2 separate regions of the Homo sapiens genome follow, and region 2 is linked to region 1. The links are contacts of gene promoters, found by promoter capture Hi-C in blood cells and fetal thymus (Javierre and others, 2016). All regions are on one chromosome and are shown on one strand. Each heading gives the region's core, a stretch centred on a gene start or on the middle of the fragment in contact. The rest is flanking DNA. Distances are from core to core; before and after follow the strand shown. Region 1 holds the start of LCP2 (lymphocyte cytosolic protein 2). Region 2 has its middle 38 kb from the start of KCNIP1-OT1.

Region 1 (3,631 bases), core at 695-3,194:
AGAAGGAACCTGCCTGGGTGCTGTAGATTTGTCCTGGGGTCTGAGATCTCCAGGAAGAAAACTCTCCCTTCCCCCAGCTCAGGCAGTGAGGTCTTCCTGTACCATCCCTGACCCGTGGTCCATCTCCCTGTACTGATGGGAGTTTTAGGGATCAATTCTCTGTTGCTCAATTGGATTGTATAATTCTCCTGGTCACACCTGAATGTTAGGCCTATCTGTGCCTCTCAGCCCGTCCCAAGTCTTTCTCTTCATAATTCTCAATTCCTTTCTTTTTCCCTTATCAAGGTAACATGCCACTTTATTCCCTCTTGGCAAATTTTACCTTGTTGCCCTATCTTATTTGGTCTATATTTGAGCAAGATATTTAGAAACATCCTTCAAAAAACCAGTTGCGCAACAATATTTGCTGAAATCTAAGTTTATTATGACCTTGCAGAAGGAAAATAACAGAAATGAAAGCACAAAATATGGCAAAAAACAGGATCTGTGAACTGTACCCCTACCATACCACACCTAGTTCAACATGTTCTCATTTTCTTCTTCAGGTTGGGGGAGAACAGCTGTGACTATAAATGCCTCGGAAATGCATAGACCCCAGGTTTGGCTATACGTCCTAGGGAACCTCGTCTACCCTCTTGAATCTCAATTTCCCCAGGAAAAACACGAAGCTGAATTAGATGACTTCTACCATCTTAGCTTTACAATCTCATCTTTATGACAGTCTGGAATATCAACAGAATCCGATGCCAGCCTGCAGGGATGAGGGTGTTAGAAGCTTAACCGTCTCGCACAAGTCATCTTACCACATGGTCAGGGTAGAGGGACTATAACTAAGTCATGTGGCTTGAGATCTGCCCAAGCAGATGCGTTGTCCCCTTCTGCCAATGACCAAGCACAGGGATCCTTCAACCTTTCCTCTAAGTCCAGAAGATAAGACAGCAACGCTCTGGTCCCAGCACCGCCACAAGCCTCTTTTCCTCTAGGGGCCTCAGTTTTCATAGCTATAAATTGGGGCTCACATCAGTTTTCTGTCCTGCTTCACAAGACTCTCATAAGGCTCCAAGGAGACTGCCCCAGGCGGGAGCTTGAGGACCCCCCTTAGGGTCGTGAGCAGTGAAAGCCCAAATGCTGTGTCTGGCACTGCTCATCATAGTCCTCTATCCAGCCCTCCCACCCTGCCTATTCTTTCTCCTGCCTCCAGGACACCACGTCTCCCCTTTCTAGTAAGTAGCGTTGATCTCATTAGCAGTTACAACAGTTCTCTGCATCTCAGAGCATGGACTTTAAAACCAGATAGGTGTGGCTTGAGTCTTGCCTCTATCACATGTAGTCCCTAGGGCTTCGGACCATTTCACTTCCCTGAGCTGATTTTGCAGCTGAGTCAAGGGGATAACAATGCTGACCTCACAACATAGTAGGGAGCGCTAAATGGGACAGTGCCTGTGAGACACCGAATTCAAACCCTAGCACATAATAGGCACATACTCATTTGAGGGCTTCTGCTCCCATCCTTCTCTCCGGAACTCATGGTCAGGAAAACTCAGCGGTCTATATGGCGCTCACTCAACCAGTAAAGTTGCCATAGGGTTCCATTGCTATCTTATACACCTCCCACATTCTGCCCCAATTCCATCGTCAAGCCTCAGCTCAGCCCACCAAGGGCACTAGCATCATGACCATTCACACAAGAGCAAGGCTTACCTTCTTGAAATAGTCAGCAAGGCTGTCGGGGTCCCAGCCCAGGACCTCTGAGCGAAAGGGCACATTCCTCAGTGCCATGGCTGCTCTCCCGGGAAGAAGCTCACAAGCTGAGCATGGGCGCTTCACCCATGGGCAGAGAAGCTCAAATCCAGAGCTCGGAGGCGTTCTTGGCTCTTCCAACTCCCAGCTACCCTGTGGAACACCCCTGTTGGAGCCGATGTCTTTTCTGGCGTAGCCAGATCCCAGAAAGCAACGGCTTCCTCTGCGAACAAATATGGTCTCTTCTCAGAAAACGACTCAGCTAGTTTCCTTTACCACTTCCTCTGCTGGGCTCTAAATAAGTAAACAAGGAAGCCCAGCTCTGGAGGCTTGAGATGCAGAGAGAGCCACAGGGTTGGTAATTCCCCACTGGCTCCAGTCACCCCAACCCAGTAGGAGAGGCAATGAAGGGGTCTTAAACTCCAATGTGAGTCTGAGTAATTTTCCTTTAAACTCTGGGCACCCATATGTCTACACTGCATTCTTGCTCAGCTGGGGCTTTGCAGACCAAAATCTATCCTGACGGTTGACCTGAAATACAGACAATTTCCCACATCAGTGAACTGCTGGAGCATGTTTTTTTAATGCTTTCCAACCACTTTCCCCTCCCACCATCAAAGACTGGGATTCTTTCAGCTGCCTCTTTACAGTTGTCATGAGAGGGTCCTCAAGGAGTGAGTGAGTCAGGCACCCAGGGCTGAACAAGGTGCTACACTGTGCAGACAGGGCTCAGTTTCTGATATGACTATTTCTGTGCTATGCAACCTTAGGCAAGGAGTTAAAAGCTGGGAATCTCAGTTTCCAAATCTGTATAATAGGAAAACAGTGATTCTTCATATGCACATAAAACTTAGATGCATTCAACTAGACAAACCTAAAAAGAAAAATTAAAAAGAAAAAAAACTTAACAATTGCTATTGGTAGTGTCATATATTCCATTCACTATTGTTTCCACAATATATTTTATTCACTATTGATTCTGCCATATATTCTAGCCAAAGAGCACATTCCCTGGAGATAGGAGGTGAGAATTTGCTGTTTTCTTAGTTTCAGACATTGTTCATTTCTCATAACTGAACAACTTATTGGCAGAGGGTGAGTCCAGTGTATAAAAGCAACTATATTTGTGCAATAAGGCAACCTCTAAACACAAGTTACTACTTCATCTAATGCCACACACACACACACACACACACACACACACACACGAGTCATCTGTTCCAAGGCTGTTGCCTTTACTAAGTGATGCTATGTTGGTCCTTGAGGTGGTGCCTTCCTGAGGGTTTTCAAGCATAGCTTTGGCCATGCACAGTTTTCTTCTTATACACACTCTGAGGAGCCCCGCCGTCACGGTAATGCACCTGCCTCACAAGCTGGTGGGCAGCTTAAATGAAATACACATTTTGCTCCAGGCCCAGCACTAGCTCATCAATGTGAGCTGGTGTTAGCCTCACCTTAGAAGGTGCTGAGGGCATCAGTGAAGGTAGCCCAGGCCATTTGCTCCTTGCAGGGCCTCACACCTAAGAACTCTTTTCTTTTCTCTCTTTCTTTCTTTCTTTCTTTTTTTTTTTTTTTTTTTATTGAGACGGAGTTTCGCTCTTGTTGCCCGGGCTGGAGTGCAATGGTGCCATCTCGGCTCACTGCAACCTCCGCTGCCTCCCAGGTTCAAGCGATTCTCTTTCCTCAGCCTCCCGAGTAGCTGGGATTACAGGCATGCACCACCACGCCCAGCTAATTTTGTATTTTTAGTAAAGACGGGGTTTATCCCTGTTGGCCAGGCTGGCCTGGAACTCCCAACCTCAGGTGATCTGCCCGCCTAGGCCTTCCAAAGTGTTGGGATTACAGGCGTGAGCCATTGTGCCTGGGCCGCACCTAAGAGCTCTTTGTAGCT
Region 2 (3,631 bases), core at 528-3,027, 130 kb after region 1:
TCCTGCAAGTGCCTCTTCCTCTGCCACGGAAGCCTCTGTGCCATGAAGAAGACCACCAGACCTCTCCAGGTGAGGGCTCTGGGTGTCAGTCCCCTACGCCCTAGCAAGATCTGGAAGGCAGGAGCCACCTTCCTGCAGGCAGGCAAGGTCCTGGAAATATAAGGTTGTCTGTGGCCATTGACCATCCTACTGCTTCCTGGTGACAGAAAATGTTGCATTGGTGGCAGCCATGGGGACAGCTTCCTGGTTCCTGAATTGCAGCACTGGTCCGTGGCATGCTCTAGGACTCAGGCATTTTCTCAGCAGCTTTTGAGGTAGTGGCCCCGGGCAGGTCAGTTTGGCAGTGTGCTGGGGATTATTCCTGGAGGCCCAGCCTGGTGGCCGCTTCTCCAGCCCTTCCAGTGATTTGGAAGCGGCTGGTTCCTTGCAGTAAGTCCCTTCTTCCTCGAACCACTGACTGATGCAGAGCTCCTCCATGGTAGGGACTGGTTCTCTTAGGCCCCTGTATCCTCAGGCCCAGCATGCTTGGGAAAATGTTTGCTAATGCTTTGTGACTCAAAAGGAATCACACACACACACACACACACACACAAACACACACACACAGTTTTTAATATTATCAGTCATATCAGCCCCCTGAGGCAGCTGCTCTGTTCCAGACAAACCCTGTTAATAACATTCTTATCCTCTTTGTTTCATTTTCCAGCTCAATTTGGAAGCCTGACCTTGTCTTGCTTTGCCTCCTACTGAGAGTTAATACTGGGACATACTGAAGGGCGAAGGCTTGAGTCACAAAGTCACAGGGATAAATCCTAGATCCAGCAGTTACTGTCTACATGACACTAAGCAGATTAGTTGCCACTGGGACTCAGTTTTACCAGTCTGCAAAATGGAGCTATCAGCCGCATCTAGCACTAGGGGCGCTGTGAGCATGGAGGGCAGTCTGCACACAGAGGCTTAACACAGTGCCTGAGCTTGCAGGTGCTTGGTAAATGGCAATTGCTGTCAGCATTGTCTGATTTACCTGAAGGAACAGTTCACACTCCACCCAGATTTTCACTGCAGCAGCCAAGAAAGAACTTCTGGGAAAGCATCTGCTTCCACCCAACTCCCAAGAGGGGTTCGTAGAGGGTGGAGCTGAGAGCCCGCCTCCCCTACCAGCCTGCAGAAAGAAAGCCATGTTTTGGCCTCAGGGAGGAGAAACCCAGATAAAAACCACCCCATGTGCAGCCTTTGCGTGGCCACAGGACCAGCTCCACAGGGAGAGGGAAGAGGCGCGGCCGCAGGACCAGCTCCACAGGGAGAGGGAAGAGGCCTCCTTTCAGGGGTGGGGAGCTGAGGGCAAGACAGACCTTTTCTGACTCAGCCCAAGGAGGGCTGGAGCAGGGGCTGCAGGTTCCCTGCTTTCTGCTACAACACAGGGTAGGGGAGAGTCATGGCCTCCCAGAGCCTCTGCAGGTTCACCTGCCAAATGGAAATAATAGCATCCTCCTCTGCAAGTCACAGCCTTAAAGAGGTGCTGAGAGTCACTAGTTAGACCCAAGCCAGCTGTTTCTGGTGCATTAGGACTATCGACCAGAACCCCTGCATTCCCAGCCCCTCCTGCGGCCTCCAACGACCAGGAGAGAAAGGCGTAAGGTGTAAGACTCTGGGCCAGGTTCTGGCAGCTTATGGCCACTCTTTTCTTGTGTCTGGACAGGAGCATTATAGCTACAACCATCTCATCTAATCCTCACTGCTGCCCTATGAGGCGGGCATTCTTATTTCCCCAGTTTTGAGATAGGCACAGAAAGGGGAAGCGACTTCCCAGGTTCACATTGCCAGTAAGTGGTAGGACTAGGCCCTGAAAAGCACAGCCTGCCATGGGGAAGAGAATTCATCCCCAGCTGAGAACCACTGTATCCTCACCCAGGGGTTCCCAGCCAATGCAAACAGGGACGTGACCAGTCTCCACTGGTCCCCTGTACCAGGTCTCCACCTTGCCGGCCTGCTGCTGGGCCCCAGGACTGCTCCCAGGCTGCACCTGTGGGGTCTGCCACCTCCTCCACTTCCTTTTGAGAAGCTGCTCCCACCCCTTCGCCTTCATCTCAAAGGAAAGTGTGCTGCCAGGCAGCTGGAGCCAGATGGCCCAGAGACAACTCTTCCCATCACACTTCCTGCAGCATCTGAGTCCAACCCCCAACTCCAGAGCTGGCAAGCTGCCCAGAGCCTCCCAGAGGAGGCCTATGGGTTAACTTCACATTTAGTATTTTCAGCATATGGTAGAAAGAAAATAGTGTTGTTAGATGTACAAGTGTGATTTCCCCTTTCCAGAATGCCTTCCTCTCTCCTCCACGTGGTGAGCTCCTATTCATACTTCAAAACCATGCTCAACTATTCCCTGCCCACCTGTTTCCTTCCACTCCTCCCCTTCTAATGTGGGTGTGTCCCAGGGACAACATCTGTGTTCCTCAGTGAAGTTGAGAGAAGCCTAAATTTGCTCTACATAAGAAAAAAGAATAAGGAGGTAAACTGGAAACGGGAGGAGGCTGGGAAACGCAGGGTTGGTGGAAGGACTTGTGGGGATGTCGTGGCAGCCACCTGAGGGTAAGGAACGTGACAGCCAGAGCAGCTATGCTTAAGGGGCTTTGCCACAGTGCGAAAGATAGGATACAAGGTCCTCTTCAGTCTCTCCATGAAAACCACAGTCAAAGTACACATTACTCACCCATGCTTTGGAGCTAGATTTGGGCTTAATGCTGTCTTTTTTTTTTTTTATTAAAACAATATTCCAGGCTGATGGAATTTAACAACAAGGAACATAATATCTGACACAAACATAGCCTAAGCCTTGATATTTATCATCTTATATAGCAAGAGATCAGGGTGTTGAGAACTTTAGAGCAGCTCCGTTATGTCCAGGCTCTGGGCGGTTTCTGGGATTCTGTCTGCTGTCCCATCAGTACTCACGGGGTGGCTGTGTCTGCTACAGACATCATAGCCTCACGAAACCACCTACACTAAAGCCAATAGGAAGAAAGGTGTGTGTCACCTTCACCTTCCCACCCTTTATGGGGGAGGAAAATATTTGCCAAGTGACCCACCTTTCCCTTCTCAATGCCCCTTTGATCAAAGCCTGGTTCTATGTCCCTGCCCAGCTGCGGGTGGTGCTAGGAAAGAAGGTATCTGGGGTTTGACAGTCTGCTGTGAGGGCTAAATAAAAAGGGCGTGAGAGGTCTGCCCTCTGCTTGTACTCCTCTGCTGAGGGAGAACTTGCTGCTTCTGGATACCACCCTTTCCCATCGTATGATAGCCTGAAGTGTTCAGAACTTTTCCCATTAAATCACTTGAACCCGGGAGGCAGAGGTTGCGGTGAGCCGAGATCGCGCCACTGCACTGCAGCCTGGGCAACAGACTGAGACTCTGTCTCAAAAAACAACAAACAAAATTGACTTTCTCCCACTGAGCCCAAGGTGCTTTCCTGGTAACTTCTCTTTGACCCAGTCCTGCCTCCTGCATCTTCCTTCAGCAACCCTGTTCTCCACATCAGCCACCAGAGGGAACATCTTAAAACACAGGGCTAGACTGGGCATGCCGTTGTCTCTGCTAAACCCCTCACTGAGTCCCCAGTGTCTACAGGATAAAATCCAAG

What was found. The method cuts DNA at HindIII sites, captures the fragments that hold promoters and counts their contacts. A CHiCAGO score of 5 or more calls a contact.
Region 2: a contact is called between a fragment that was not itself captured here and the fragment with the promoter of LCP2 in region 1, in 2 of 17 cell types (monocytes and M0 macrophages). The highest score is 7.4, in monocytes.

What each region holds. Positions count from the first base shown.
Region 1 is chr5:170,295,833-170,299,463 of GRCh38, forward strand. It overlaps LCP2 (lymphocyte cytosolic protein 2), which reads right to left and starts at 1,945. Exons shown (of 21, transcript NM_005565.5): 1 at 1,702-1,945. The coding sequence starts at 1,779. RefSeq lists an enhancer at 1,048-1,127. The HindIII fragment of the contact is 7,744 bases long and covers 774-3,631 here.
Region 2 is chr5:170,425,682-170,429,312 of GRCh38, forward strand. It overlaps a transcript of KCNIP1 not described here. Among named protein-coding and RNA genes, the nearest start is that of KCNIP1-OT1, 38 kb to the left of the region's middle. The HindIII fragment of the contact is 3,703 bases long and covers 1-3,629 here.